Linked DNA regions of Homo sapiens: regions 1, 2 and 3 are each linked to region 4. Evidence: promoter capture Hi-C in 16 types of primary human blood cells and fetal thymus (Javierre and others, 2016). All regions are on one chromosome and are shown on one strand. Each heading gives the region's core, a stretch centred on a gene start or on the middle of the fragment in contact. The rest is flanking DNA. Distances are from core to core; before and after follow the strand shown.

Evidence for each region. Contacts are between HindIII fragments. The CHiCAGO score rates a contact against its expected background, and 5 or more counts as called.
Region 1: the fragment with the promoter of CPT2 here is called in contact with the fragment with the promoter of ORC1 in region 4 in 1 of 17 cell types (fetal thymus); the score reaches 6.1 in fetal thymus.
Region 2: a contact is called between a fragment that was not itself captured here and the fragment with the promoter of ORC1 in region 4, in 1 of 17 cell types (fetal thymus). The highest score is 7.1, in fetal thymus.
Region 3: the fragment with the promoter of MAGOH here is called in contact with the fragment with the promoter of ORC1 in region 4 in 1 of 17 cell types (fetal thymus); the score reaches 7.7 in fetal thymus.

The regions. Positions count from the first base shown.
Region 1 is chr1:53,194,922-53,198,521 of GRCh38, forward strand. It overlaps CPT2 (carnitine palmitoyltransferase 2), which reads left to right and starts at 1,903. Exons shown (of 5, transcript NM_000098.3): 1 at 1,903-2,174. The coding sequence starts at 2,023. RefSeq lists a silencer at 1,887-2,246. The HindIII fragment of the contact is 6,053 bases long and covers 1-3,600 here.
Region 2 is chr1:53,217,512-53,220,983 of GRCh38, forward strand. It overlaps CZIB (CXXC motif containing zinc binding protein), which reads right to left and starts at 3,123. Exons shown (of 8, transcript NM_017887.3): 1 at 3,059-3,123; 2 at 2,750-2,833; 3 at 1,356-1,412; 4 at 903-984; 5 at 661-692. The coding sequence starts at 3,064. CZIB-DT (CZIB divergent transcript) reads left to right here and starts at 2,849. Exons shown (of 1, transcript NR_185918.1): 1 at 2,849-3,472. RefSeq lists an enhancer at 2,524-3,025 and silencers at 2,895-3,264, 3,395-3,454. The HindIII fragment of the contact is 2,201 bases long and covers 356-2,556 here.
Region 3 is chr1:53,236,280-53,239,906 of GRCh38, forward strand. MAGOH (mago homolog, exon junction complex subunit) reads right to left here and starts at 2,239. Exons shown (of 5, transcript NM_002370.4): 1 at 2,082-2,239. The coding sequence starts at 2,169. MAGOH-DT (MAGOH divergent transcript) reads left to right here and starts at 2,331. Exons shown (of 3, transcript NR_038953.1): 1 at 2,331-3,066. RefSeq lists enhancers at 1,892-2,533, 2,021-2,080, 2,121-2,250. The HindIII fragment of the contact is 5,872 bases long and covers 1-3,057 here.
Region 4 is chr1:52,402,629-52,405,859 of GRCh38, forward strand. ORC1 (origin recognition complex subunit 1) reads right to left here and starts at 1,795. Exons shown (of 17, transcript NM_004153.4): 1 at 1,618-1,795. PRPF38A (pre-mRNA processing factor 38A) reads left to right here and starts at 1,974. Exons shown (of 10, transcript NM_032864.4): 1 at 1,974-2,251; 2 at 3,052-3,211. The coding sequence starts at 2,122. RefSeq lists an enhancer at 1,294-2,493. The HindIII fragment of the contact is 1,229 bases long and covers 1,628-2,856 here.

The DNA of each region.
Region 1 (3,600 bases), core at 653-3,152, 790 kb after region 4:
TTATTAGCTATCATTAGTATTAGTGTATTTTATGTGTGGCCCAAGACAATTCTTCTTCCAGTGTGGCTCAGGGAAGTCAAAAGATTGGACACCCCTGGCATAGAGTATTTTGGGGTGACATGATGGGAGCTGGAGAAGTAGGTAGGGGTCAGAATTCAGAAGGCCTTGGACACCAGCCTAAAGGCTTAGAGTTGCTCCCATTGGCCATGCACTCACCAAAGGTGTTCACGTCCCTCTTTTGGCTGTTAGATTGGATGGGCTCAATCTTTTGGCCCTCTGTCTCTAGAATAGAGCCGCTGCTTTTCTACTGGGCCCACTATTTCTTCCTGGTCCTCTGATCCCCTTAGCACTACACAGATCTCGATATTTGCCTCGGGTATCAAGGCTCTGAAAATGATCAGGATTTAGAGGAGATGGCTCATTTTCAGAAAGAGTTTTATATTCTCCCTCTGGCCTTATACACTACAGGCAAATGGCACCGATGTTTTGGAGTTGGGCCAGTTGGGCCTTTTCTCCCCTCAAGAGAGGAGGATTCGATATTCAGTGTTTCTGAATTTCATGCTTAGTTCTTAAGCCATTTCCCATTTGCCCTAAGAAATAAGAGCTGGCAGCAAGCTGCGCTGTTTTTTTCTAAACGGGAAATGGGTTAAGCATTTGTGATCACCACTGAATGAGTGCCAGAGCTGGTTAGTGATCTTCCTGTTCAATCCGAGGTCACCTAACTAGATAACAAAGAGCTGAAACTAAAAGTCCGGTCTCCTGACTCCCAATCCAGTACTCTTTCTGGTGTGCTCCAGCTTCTGGCTCTGCTTAGCCAATTATGGAACAGACAGAATGTACTTGGCTGCCCCAAACGGCTAAAGGGCAGTTCTGTTCCCAAAATGGAATTCTGTTGTGCCTCAAGCTAGGCAGCATAATTGTGTGTCTTTTGGTAACTCCCTGTCTTCTTCTGTAAAATGGGAGTAGAGCCTACTTAATCCTGCAGCTACTTCTAAGATCAGGGATTGGGGCGTGGTGGGCTGTTCTGCAGCTGTTTTGTGATGGATGAGGGATGATAGATCTATGTTCAAGTAGCGGAATCTTAGAGTCAGGAGTTGGAAGGAATCTTGGAGGTGGTCTGTGGTGACAGGAAGCCTCTTCCAATAGACTGAACACGGAAGACTTCCTAGAGCCGGAGGACAAGGGTTTCTTTCCTCTTAGCAGTGAGCTTCTTGTTTTTGGAAATGCTCAAGCCAAGAATGGATGTTCAGGCAGAGGGGATTCCGCTCGGAAGGGGCTTTCTGCACTGAAGTGGTGGCCAGCGGGAAACTCCAGGTTTCCAACTCCTGCACAAATCCTTTCTAATATCCATCCACTCAGGTGAGCTGGCAGGGCAGTAGCTGTGCAGGGTTCAGGGTCATTATATGTCAATGACCTTCAGCACGGATTACTAACAACAGTAACATCCGTTACCGTTTACTGCTTTCCTATTAAGCACCATGCACTGTGCATAACATGTTATCTTTATCTCATATCTAGAATTTTGGGAGGTACTTTGAATCATTACGATCTATCTACTTCTTAGGTGAGGAAATAGAGGTTTAAAATTTAGTCCACAGTCTCGCAAGGATGGAGCCTGGATCAAATTTTGGGTTATCAGATTCCAATCACGTTTCTTAGCTTTTCTTTTTTTTTTCCAACTCCAGTTTCTGTCTTGCTCCAAAAAAGGGGAAGGAGCGGCTGCGGCGCTCGGTTTCCCGCCTCCTAGGGAAGGGAAGGGAGACGAGCAGCGCGGAGGCTGGGGCCCCCTTCCGGGCGGGGCCTACTAGTGGGCGGGGCCTGTCAGTGAGCGGCCCCTGCCCGGAAGGAGCCAGTCCGGGGCGGAGCCGATGGCCTTACAGGGGCCGGAAGTGGCCTGCGGGCGGAGAAGTGCCTCAGGAGTCCTGACGCAGTGTCTTGGGCGCTAACGGCGGCGGCGGCCTTGTGTTTAGACTCCAGAACTCCCCACTTGCCGCGTTCTCGCCGCCGCAGGCTCCCGGGACGATGGTGCCCCGCCTGCTGCTGCGCGCCTGGCCCCGGGGCCCCGCGGTTGGTCCGGGAGCCCCCAGTCGGCCCCTCAGCGCCGGCTCCGGGCCCGGCCAGTACCTGCAGCGCAGCATCGTGCCCACCATGCACTACCAGGACAGCCTGCCCAGGTGAGCCTGGCCTCCGGGTCCCCGCCGCCCGCCGCCGTCCCAGGATCGGCCCCAACCTGACTGCAGTCACTCATGACTCCTCTAGTGAACCCGTTTCCGCCCCCAAGCCCCTACCATGGAGGCTGCCACAGCCCCTAATCTGGAAGTCTTGGGACTTTTCACAATCTCCTAGCACAGGAACCTCAGAACCCTCAAATTCTCTTCCAGAACCCCTCGATGCTATCTCAGATTCTCCATCTTGAACGCTTCTCAGATTCCCTCTCCTTTAACCTAACTTCCAGCCAGCTATCCTGAGTCCTCTTCTCCCTGAAAAATGCCAGACCTGCATATTTCCAGCGCCGCTGTAATCCCTCGACTATGGTGTCTCCTGAAGTACTTTAATGACTGCCTCACATTCCTACCCGGAATATGGGTAGGCTGATTCCTAATACATCATGGTTACCATTCCTTAACTTCTCCCAGCACCGCCTTCACCCCTGTCACTCAGGACCCTCAGCCCCACCTCCCATTTCTCCAGTACTCTGTTCTTTCACCCCCCATGAGCCCCCACAAGCACAGCCCTGAAGTGTTCACCCTTGTCCTCAACTGACCCTCCCCCATGTTTTTAAATCTTTAATCTCCTAAATCCAGTGTTCACCCGGAAACCTTTCACTCTCTCCAAGCCCTCCTCAACAGGTTCCTCCCCTCAAAATATCCTTCCTCACCCACAGTACCCCTTGTAAGTGCAGCTCACCCTCACAGAATTCTAGACACCACCCTCAGTACCCCATCCACACTCCATCATACTCAGATCCAGGGTCCACCCAAATTTCTCTTCTCCTCCTCACCACTGGCTACCCTGCCTTCGAAACACTTCACCCAGAATCGACTTCCCCTCTGAAAAGAGCCCTAGTAAATCCTCTTCCCCTTCCCTCCCCCAGTACTTTCTTAAATCCAGCTTCCAGTTCTTCCAGCCTTCGAACTCCGCTTTCGTCTGAGTTGCCAGATCTCCTTCTTCAATATTAGAAATTTTCTTCACCCTCTAAACCAAACCTAAACTAACTTCTAACTTACTGAGTGAGTAACTCAGTTCCTGGAGCCAAGTTCAAAATTTGTCTCAAAGACCCTTCTCACCTTATTTCTCACCAAACTGCCCTCAGGGATTCCCCACACTCCAAGAGCTAGAGGCCAGGCTTCTTCCCCATGTGTGGAACATTGTGTCACAGGCCTCACCCGAGCTGCTGGGTTGTTTTTCTCTGCATCTGGGACCACTTAACCCAACGTCATCACTACATACCCTCACCCTCTCAGGAGGATCGAGTGATTCTTGTGAAATTACATTTTGTGCAAACATCTAAGACATGAAAATGAGATTATCTACACGTGGCAGGAGGGAGGAAGAAAAAGGGGCTTTGTGCCTGTGGCATAAGCCTGGTACATGCTTCCA
Region 2 (3,472 bases), core at 206-2,705, 810 kb after region 4:
TCACTGTAAAGTAATTTCCTGCACACTGACCACATCTCTGGCACTGGTAAGGCACTTCTCTGTTAGGGCCCTAGTTCGATTCTTGTTTTTTGTATTTTCCACTAGATTATTATGTACGTGAAGGCGAGTCCTCATTTAATTTCTCTTTAACTTCAGGACAAAGCCAAGAATTTGGCACAACTCAAGATACTTTAAATAAATACCAAATAAGGAATAGGTGAATACATATAACTGGCTTTCTTTAAACAAACAGATCCAAAGCACACCCTCCCTCACCTTTGGGCTAACTTGTTAACACTGATGATATAAAGGATGGGATGCACCAAACGACTACCCCACCCATGGTTTCAGAGAAAGCTTGCTAGTCCCCTAAAATGAAGACAAGGCAAGTGCTCTCAGTGATGCAAACTGAACAGCTAGGTTGTGTCAGAGGTCCCCTGAGCTCTCACAGCCCAGCCCTCATAAGAAGGCACTGCAAGAGGCAATATACCAAGCACTCAGTGTACAGTGGATAAATGACTGAGTCAAAGAAGAACTAAGTTCATGAGTGAATGTCCTATGGCAGGTCACTCTGATGCAGGCATGACTCTAGAACCCAGACCTACTAACTCCAGTTAGGATTTAAGCCCACCATCCCTGCCACTACAGCAGCAAACTTACATTGTAAGGCTTGATGGTGCTGCTTAAAATCTCTGAAATAGAAAAGAGAACACAAAGTTGACTTGAGTCCATACCCTCGCCCCAGCCAGGTGCCCACATGTGGCCCTGAAAAAGATCACGCTGTACAGGTGTCGGCATCTTAGGCCTGACTCCACCCTCAGGTAACATGAGTCTACTTTCAGCCTGGTGCCAGGAAGCTGTGGGCCACCCTGGCAGAACTCAGTACGCACAGCCTGACCTACCGATGGAATTTTCTCTTGCACACAGCTTGCACTTCTGGACCATGGAAGCACTGCCACGGCCCCCCTTCAGTGCCACACTGTCCTGGCAAAAAGCAAACAGAACTTTCAGTCACATATGAATTAGATGTACAGTCCTGAGGAGATCGAGCCCACCATTTATTGTCCACTTAAAGAGACCAAGACCCAGAAAGGGTAACTTACTAGGACAAGACTCCTGGGAAGGCTTCCTGAGGAAAATAAAAAAAGGGCTTCCCCTTGATTTTGAACTCTGCCTCATACCTCAAAGATGCCTATTGAATCCAGTGCTGATCACACTGACACCTACCCTCCCAAACCACAAAAAGCAGGGAGCAAAGAACTGGAGAGATGAAGGCCAGTTTCCCCAAATCCCTGCCCAGAAGTGTATGTGTGTTTGTGAGTGTTTATGTTGGGGGTTGGGCGGGGAACAGTTACCATCAGCCGGATGTACTGCCACTTGTCCGAAATCTCACCACAGTTGCCACATTTCATCTTTGGGGAAAAAGAATGTTAGTAAAGCAGCTGGCTCTGCTGCACAGACACCAAGGAAAGGGTAAGAACAGTGGGAGGTGGGCAGGCTCATGATCTACCTTCTTGATGGCAATCTCACTTCATCCCTAACACCTGCCCCAACAAGGACAAAACTAGAACTATCTCTGGGCAAAGGATAGGTAAGGCTGTTTCCTATGCCGGCGTGCCCACCCTCCTCTATGAAGTGCTCAGTGTGGCCGGGGATTCAAGGCACCTGTGGTGCAGAAATGGTTTCAGCGGAGGTGAGGGGGGGGAATATGGAGAGATTTGTTAGAAGATACAAAATTACAGCTATATGGGAGGAATAAGTTCTAGTGTTCTATAGCACTGTAGGATGACTATAGCTGACAATAATATATAGTTTCAAATAGCTAGGATATTAAATGCTCCCAACACAAAGAAATGATACACGTTTGAGGTGAATATGCTAACTACCTTGATCTGATCACAATACATTACATTTATCGGAACATCACTATATACCCCATAAATATGTACAATTCTGTGTCAATTAAGAAAAAAAAAGAGAAATGGCCTCAGCAGGCCCCCGACCCACTCTGCTTGGTTAGCTTTATGTTCCCACAGGCCCTGTATGTCACTGGTATAAGCACTTATCACTCTATTGTTACTCTATTTTTCTGTCTCCTTCACTCGATTCCGCTTCTTCAAGCCAAAGAACAGATTCTCCCAAGTAAGCCCTGGTATTCAGGCTTCAAAATCCTGGGAAACAAAAGTAGTCCGGAGGCAGCTTCCCGAAAAACAGGGCTTTTGAGAGGTACAGAAGGATGCTGGGATTTTTGACCAGGAGTAAAACAGAGCAGAAGCTCTGGGATCTGGAAGAGTGAAGAGCCTCGAACTGCTGGGGAAGGGGAGGCCTCTGTAGACCATGCCACTAGGGTACCAGCTTTACCAGTGTGGGAGGGCTAAGGAAGGGTGGATTACGCACAAAATTAAACTATTTCACAATAAAGAAAACCAAATCAATAAACGAAAGGCGAACTATTCACCTTATTAAATAATCACAAGCGTCCCTTCAAGTAGCATTTCGTTTAGTGTCCATTTACAGACCACGAAATATTTAACACAGGGAAGAACTACAAAATGAAGCTTTCCAAGACTGCCAATTAGAGATAAACCAATACACTTTAATAGAAAGCAAACGTAAAATTCTAACTAGGAAAACCCCGAACACTTAATGTGCCTGGTTAAATATTTTCTCATACTGCCGGAGAGAAGGCTCCGGTTCAGCACTGAGATCAGGACGGGCCTCCTCTCCCCGGGCCCCGCCCCGGCCGCACCTTCAGGTACCACCGGAAGTCCTCGCCCACGGGCCGGAGGTTGGTGATGTTCTCCAGCGTGGCTTTGAGTTGCAGCGCGATTTTCTGAGGGGGAGGGCCAGAGCGACTGCGTCAGCCGTGCCTGCGCAGCCCCACGCCTGCCCGACCCTCCCGCATTCCCAGCCGTGGGTGCCACAGGGAGACACTCCTTCTGCCTCCTGCTCCTTCAGCGCGCACCCACTCGCTTCATCTCCTCCTGGCGCGAGCTGTTGCCTCCCAGACCCTCGCCACCTCCCCTCCGTGTCCCCGCGGCGGGCGGCCTCCCCTCACCCCCATGGTAGCCCTCTCCGCCCGGTGCTGGCTGCGGCCCTTGCCGTTGCTTTCCGGCGCGTCGTAAAAGGCGGGTGCCGTCTGCGCACCCTCAGTAGGGCGGGGCCGGGGCCGGGCCGCGGGGCAGGGACTTCTGCGCGCCGCTGCTCGCCTGGCCCACTGGGCTTTTCGCATCTGGGGATCTGGGGCCAGTGGAGGTCAGCCAGGTCCGCGAGCAACCTGTGCTCAGGCCAGCGGAAGCCTGACTCCAGGATTCGGTGGTGCCACAGACAGTTACTGAACGCCAATTTTGTGCCTGCTTTAAGCGAACAGGACAGTTCCTGACCCTCAGTTCTTTCCAGGCTCTTCACTACTCTGCCTGCCCTGGAACTTCTCAGATCACGTCAGCTCCCTCTGCCCAGGGGAAAAGCTACA
Region 3 (3,627 bases), core at 989-3,488, 830 kb after region 4:
CATTCAGTTCACTGTCCATACAGTGGACAAGGTGATGTGGTAACAGATCTATCAGATTAGGTTACTCTAATACTTTGATAAAGTCAATGGCTTTCCACTGCCTTCCTGGTAAAATCCAAACTCCTCAACATGGCATACAGCTAAGCTAAGCCCCTGCCTGCTTTTCCAGCCTCATTCCTGCCAATATTCTTCTCTCACACAGCTGAAGTCAAACTACTTGGTTTCTGCCTGAAACATCCCAAGCACTTTTTGGTTTTCAGCTTCTTTGCATGCTGTCTAAAATGCCTTCTTGACTCTTCTTCGTCTCCTAACCAATTCCTCACATCCCCTCCTCCCATCATTTTATGTAGGAAGCCTCCTCTGACCCTCAGGCTTGGTTAGGTGCACCCTTCTCTGCTGCGAGCCTCCTCTGTTTCTTTTTACCACAACACCTAATGTGCTGTTTTATCACTGCTTACAAATCTATCTCCCTCACAGTCGAGGCCTGTCAGATTCATCTTTGTGCCCCACTTAGTGGATGTCTTCTGTCATCTTTGATTGCTCTTTCCTTCACCACAGTGCCTCTGCCAACAAAATCCTATCAACGATCAAAGTCCAGTTGGTTCTGCCTCCAACAGTTTCCTAAATCTTTCTCTCCATTTCTACTATCTCTGTAGTCCCAACCAGTATCTTTTTTTTTTTTTTTTTTTGAGACAGAGTCTTGCTCTGTCACCCAGGCTGGGGTACAGTGGCACTATCTCAGCTTGCTGCAACCTCCGCCCCAGGTTCAAGAGATTCTCCTGTCTCAGCCTCCCGAGCAGCTGGGATTACAGGCGTCTGCCACCACACCCGGCTAATTTTTGTATTTTTAGTAGAGGCGGGGTTTCACCATGTTGGCCAGGCTGGTCTTGAACTCCTGACCTCAAGTGATCCGCATACCTCGGCCTCCCAAAGGGCTGAGATTACAGGCTTGAGCCACCGCGCCCGGCCCCCAACATCTTTCGTGTCTTGACAACTGCAACAGTCTCCTAATCAATAGCCCTGTTTCCACTCTTGCCCATTCCGCACCCAATAACCAGAATGCTTTTTCAAGAAGAGATCACATTTCTTCTCTGCTTAAAACCTTCCAAGCCCGGCCGGGCGCGGTGGCTCACACCTGTAATCCCAGCACTTTGGGACGCCGAGGCGGGCGTATCACCTGAGGTCAGGAGTTCGAGACCAGCCTGGCCAACATGGTGAAACTCCGTCTCTACTAAAAATACAAAATTAGCCGGGCGTGGTGGTGGGCGCCTATAATTCCAGCTACTCGGGAGGCTGAGGCAGGAGAATCACTTGAACCCGGGAGGCGGAGGTTGCAATAAGCCGAGATCGCGCCATTGCACTCCAGCCTGGGCAAAAAGAGCGAAAGCCGTCTCAAAAAAAAAAAAAAAAAAAAGGCCTTCCAAGTCCAAACTTTTTACCGTGGTCTATAAAGACCTAAGAGGTGCCGCTCCTACCTACCTATCCGACATCATCTCCTGCTATCTCCCAGCTCACCACTCTTCAACCACACTGACCACCTGAGACACGCCTAGCTCATTCCCGCCCTGCAGCCTTGACATCTGGTATTCCCTTTGTGTAGAATGGTCTTCCTTATGAGCTTCACAAGGCTGAGCCCTTCTTGTTAATTAGGACTCGGCTGCAATATACCCTTTACAGAGAGCTCTCTAATGGCCAACCTATCTAAAAGCAGCCCATCCAGCAATTATTCTACCATGTTATTTTTTGACCACTCACTGCTATCTGGAATCATCTTTTTGTTTATGATCTCTCTCCCGGCAGTAAAACACAAGTTCCACGAGAGGGGAAGTTTGTCTACCTTCGCTGCCGTATTCCCAAAGAGTGGAACAGAGCCTGGCACACAGTGGGCGTTCAGTCAACGTTTGCTGAATGGATAGAAAGACCCCGTGGAGCAGACACAGTGGCGTTCCTTTAAGATCTGCACTGCACAGGTCTCAGTCCCTCCCTCCTCTAGTTCCCCACAGATTTCCGACCCTCGGCCTCCCCACTCGCCGGCCCCCAGGCCTGGTCCCCGCTCCCGGCGGGCGGCAGGCTGCTTTTACCGTCCGGTCGAAACTCAAACTCCAGGAACTCGTGGCCGAACTTGCCCTTGTGCCCCACGTAGTAACGCAGATAAAAGTCACTCTCCATGGCTCCCAAAAGACAACCGAGCCTGAACTTCCAAGAGCAAGCCGCACTGCCGCCGTCTGCGCCCGACACTGACGTTTGCGGCGGCGCGCGGAAGTGACGTCAGGTCCCGTCGTCGCTGCGTGGAGGGGTTCCTTCTCGCTAACCTCTTCGCCCGGAAGTGGCAACAAGACTGCAACATCCCCTCACGCCTAGTCTGTAAAGAACTTTGTTTAACCCGGAGGCGGGGCCAGCCAGCTCCGCCCCTCCAGCTGGACGCGGGAGCGAGGTTGAGGTTCATACCCCTGGGTTCTCTCCAGGCCTGAGGCGGAGAGCCAGCCGCCTGCCTACCTCTGGGCTTTGAACCCCGGGTCTGGTGACTTCGCTTAAAGACCTCGGGCCGAAGGCCCGCCAGGCTCAACCTCGGTTCACAGGACCCCCGACTTGTGTGAGTCGTACACCGCTCTTTACCGTCTCTGGACCTAGGTCATCTCGGCAGTAAAATGGGGTGAAATGACCCGACCTCCCCGGAGGATGCCGCGCACGATGTGTGCCTCAAGTTGGCTTCCACTGACCTGAACTGTTAAGAAAGCCCTCCTCAGTGACGCCTTCCCTGAATCCACAGTGGAGATTGCCGTTTTCCTGGAACTAATTCACCCACACTTACCCATTTCATCCCTTTCCACCTTTTATTTCTACCTTTCTGCCCCACTGATCTCTAGAATAGGTGCTGGGAGACGTTAGAGTATTTGATCTCCCACTCCCCAGTCATCCCACTTACCGAGCAGTAATTCTCTGCCTGGCTGCACATTGCAATCACTTGGGAAGCCTCTAAAAATACTGATGCCAGGGCTCTACCCCAAGCCAGTTAAAATCTCCAGCGCTGGACCTGGGCATTGGTACTTTTTGTAAAGCTTTCAGGTGAGTCAGAGTTGAGGACCACTGACCAAAGAGGTCCTTTCTTTTCAGGGTAAAGTTGTCCTCTGTGAAGCCTTTCTGGCTCTGGAAAAAATTTACAGTTGAGTAGGCCCAGGGCAATCAAGATCATAATTATGTAATAGGAACCTGCTTTCACTCATCTAAGTTCCAGGCTTAGAAAGAATGAATGGTTCTAGAGACAGTGCCGAGATGACATCATTCTTGGGTCCTGGCGGCTAGAACTGTATACGATTCTGTAAGTTGGGACAGCAGTCTCTGATTCCTATTCCCAGTCTTTTCTTTTTGAGACGGAGTTTCGCTCTTGTTGCCCAGGCTGGAGTGCAATGGAGTGATCTCAGTTCACCGCAACCTCGCCTACCTAATTTTTAAACTTTTTGTAGAGGCAAAGTCTCCCTATGTTGCCCACGCTGGTCTCAAACTCCTGGGTTCAAGTGATTCTCCTGCCTTAGCCTCCCAAGTAGCTGGGATTACAGGCATGCGCCACCATGTCCAGCTAATTTTTGTAATTTTCTGTTTTTAGTAGAGACGGGGTTTCACCATGTT
Region 4 (3,231 bases), core at 545-3,044:
CAAGGATAAAACAGAAATACAAAGGCTGGGCGCAGTGGCTCACGCCTGTAATCCCAGCATTTTGAGAGGCTGAGGTGGGTGGATCACCTGAGGTCAGGAGTTCGGGACCAGCCTGGCCAACATGGTGAAACCCCGTCTCTACTAAAAATACAAAAATCAGGTGGGCATGGTGGCAGGCAAATCACTTGAACCCGGGAGGTGGAGGCTGCAGTGAGCCGAGATCGCAACACTGCACTCTAGTCTGGGTGACAGAGCAGAACTCTGTCTCAAAATAAAAAAAAGAAAAGTAGATGTTATTATCACTTCAAGGTGATAACTTATCCTATCTTATACAGGATGGCACAGCCTTAACTCAAACCCGGAAAAGCCAGACTGCAATTACTGTGCTCTTAACTACTTCACCTTACAACACACTGTGTGAAACTGGATAATGTTAATATGTAACTGAGAGCTTGCTTTTGGTGTACTTATTACAATAAATCAGGCTTCCCAGCCACTGACTGAACATTGTGGATTGGGCCTCAATTTGCTTACCCACAAAATGGAGAAAATAGAATCTTCCGTTTATTCAACCAATATTTATTAAGTACCCATCGTGTGCCAGGCACTATTTTAGGATAATGGAAGATTAAGTGAAAAAATGCAAAATGGTAAATCCACTTTCCCACTACCTTAATCCCTTGCATTTATTTGTAAGGTACAGTGGTTTTATTTATTAAGTATCATTTGATGAATACTATGGAACTAACATAATTCAAGCAAAATTTTGCATTCAATTTCGGCAGATTCACAAACCTCCTAAAGTCCACATATTGCCCTCCATTAAAGTTAAAAACTGTTGCAAAGGGACTTAAACCATTCTGTCATATTGGAAACTCCTTTGGCATTTCCAGCCCACCTAACACAGCAGAGACGAGGGTACTATTATTCATGTGTTACAGACAACTAGAATCGTATATAATCATTGCAGTTTCACAAATAGATCAGGATAAGAATGCCTTTTCCAACTGTCACAGCAGAAGACTCTTCAATTCCGGGGTTAGAAAAGAGAAGTAGGAAGGGGGCCACCAGACTTCTCTTCTGAAAAGAAGGTGAATGACAGACAGCCCAGCAGTTAGGAGCTCATCTGAAAAAAAGATCTGGGTAGGAGCCCAGACTGCTTAGTCACGAAAAGCGACCTAAGACACGTCCCTCCCTGGGCGCAATTTACGTCCGTAAAATGGGGTAATAACCTCTGCTCCGCCTTCCCTGTAGTGGTTCCTACACTATAGCTCAAAGAACGAAACAAGTAGAGTGCTTTACAAATGCAGATGGAGGGAAAGTCATCACTGAGCATCAGGGTGCGGAGGGCAGGAATGCTCCTGCTTCTAGGCTGTTGGCTTCCGCCTTCCCCCCTGCAAACTCAGTTCCCTGCAGCGCGGGAAGCCTTTTAGGAATCGGAGTGTGGAACAGAGGAACGCTCTTAACAGTTCAGAACAGTGCCTGGCACTGAACAGGCGCTTGGTACATGTCAGCTAAAAGAATCAATGACTGAGTCTACAGAGAACGTCCTCAGTTTCAGAGGTTCCGATGCGCCCTCCCCCGAGTCCCTCGCAGCCCGCTGGACGCCACACTCACCCGGCTCCAAAGCTTCCTCCGGCTAGCCGCAAGCCCTCCGTTTCCTACCGCCTCCACTTCGAGAGCTCCGGGGGATGCGGCACCTCTAACCTGCACCAGCAGGGCTCCTTCTACAACTACGGGCCGAAAGCCAGGACCAAAGCGTGTGTCTCACTAGAAATGAAAAGAAGGTGGAAGGAGAAAAGAAAACTTCGCGCCAATCGGCGTGGCCCCGCCCCCAGACCGTCCCTTCGTTGCGACACCAACTAGCTCGCCCCGCCCACTCCGTACACCTAAGAGGGGCGCATGACGTACATCCGCTAACATGCAGCCGCCATCATTGATTCGATAGGCGACGCGGGGAGCGGAAGCCCTTTACACTACGGTGTTTCCGGCTTCAAGATGGTCGCCTAAGCTGTTTAGTGAAACTTCTTCCACCTTTCTCCATTCCTCTAGGTGCTTTTTCTGAACCTGGATGTGAGGCATTAAAGGATCCGACGGAAATAGAATTGAAGGCATTCTAAAATGGCTAACCGTACAGTGAAGGATGCGCACAGCATCCATGGCACCAACCCTCAATATCTGGTGGAGAAGATCATTCGAACGCGAATCTATGAGTCCAAGTACTGGAAAGAGGAGTGCTTTGGACTTACAGGTAAGTGGAAGCGCGCGGAGCGCCTCTCAGCCCCCTTGTGGCCCATTTCTCCTGACCGAGCGCGGGTAGGACTAGCGACTGGCCTCTGGGGGTGGTACTGGAACGGAGTATGTCGATCATTCAGAAAAATTTTGAGTGCCTGCTAAGTGCCTCGTCTTGTGTTGAGTATTAGAGGCACAGATGAATCTGGTAAGGTCATATTCTGAAGGCTGTCTCAGTTGGGTGTTGTGAGTTATTCCGTATTTAATGATAGCAGGCTGGGTTGCAACAGTGTTAAGCTCAGGGATCCGGATATAACACTTTGACACAATCTGTTGAAGGTCTTTAAGGACCTAACGTTAATATGCCTGAAACCAAATTCATGATCTTACTATTCTTAGATCTGGGCCGGTTCCAGTATTTATAAATATCAGTGCTTCAGAGAAGTCTTCCAGGTAATCTTCCGATTTGAATTGTGGCTTTAAATCCATGTCCTGTGACAATCTGTGGACCTTGAGCAAGTCACTTTACCTTTCTTAGCCCTCATTTTCCTTACCTGGAAATAAGAACATTGCTAGAACTTTCTTCATGACTTGTTAAAAAAGGTTAAGTGAGATAATATGAAAAGCTTAGCAGGGTACCTATTTTATTATCCATTCTCAATGTATATTAGCTGTTGTCGTTACTGTTATTAATACACATTCGTTCTCCTAATATTACACTGTTGATGTATATTTAGGAGAACCAAAGCTTGAACTAACTCCACTCCAACTAGGAAGAGCTTAGCCCTAATATGTTACTGTATTGTTTTTGTTTTTTAGCTGAACTTGTAGTCGATAAAGCCATGGAGTTAAGGTTTGTGGGTGGCGTCTATGGTGGCAACATAAAACCAACACCCTTTCTGTGTTTAACCTTGAAGATGCTTCAAATTCAACCCGAGAAGGATATCATTGTAGAGTTTATCAAAAATGAAGATTTCAAGTGAGTGCAATGTTCACTAG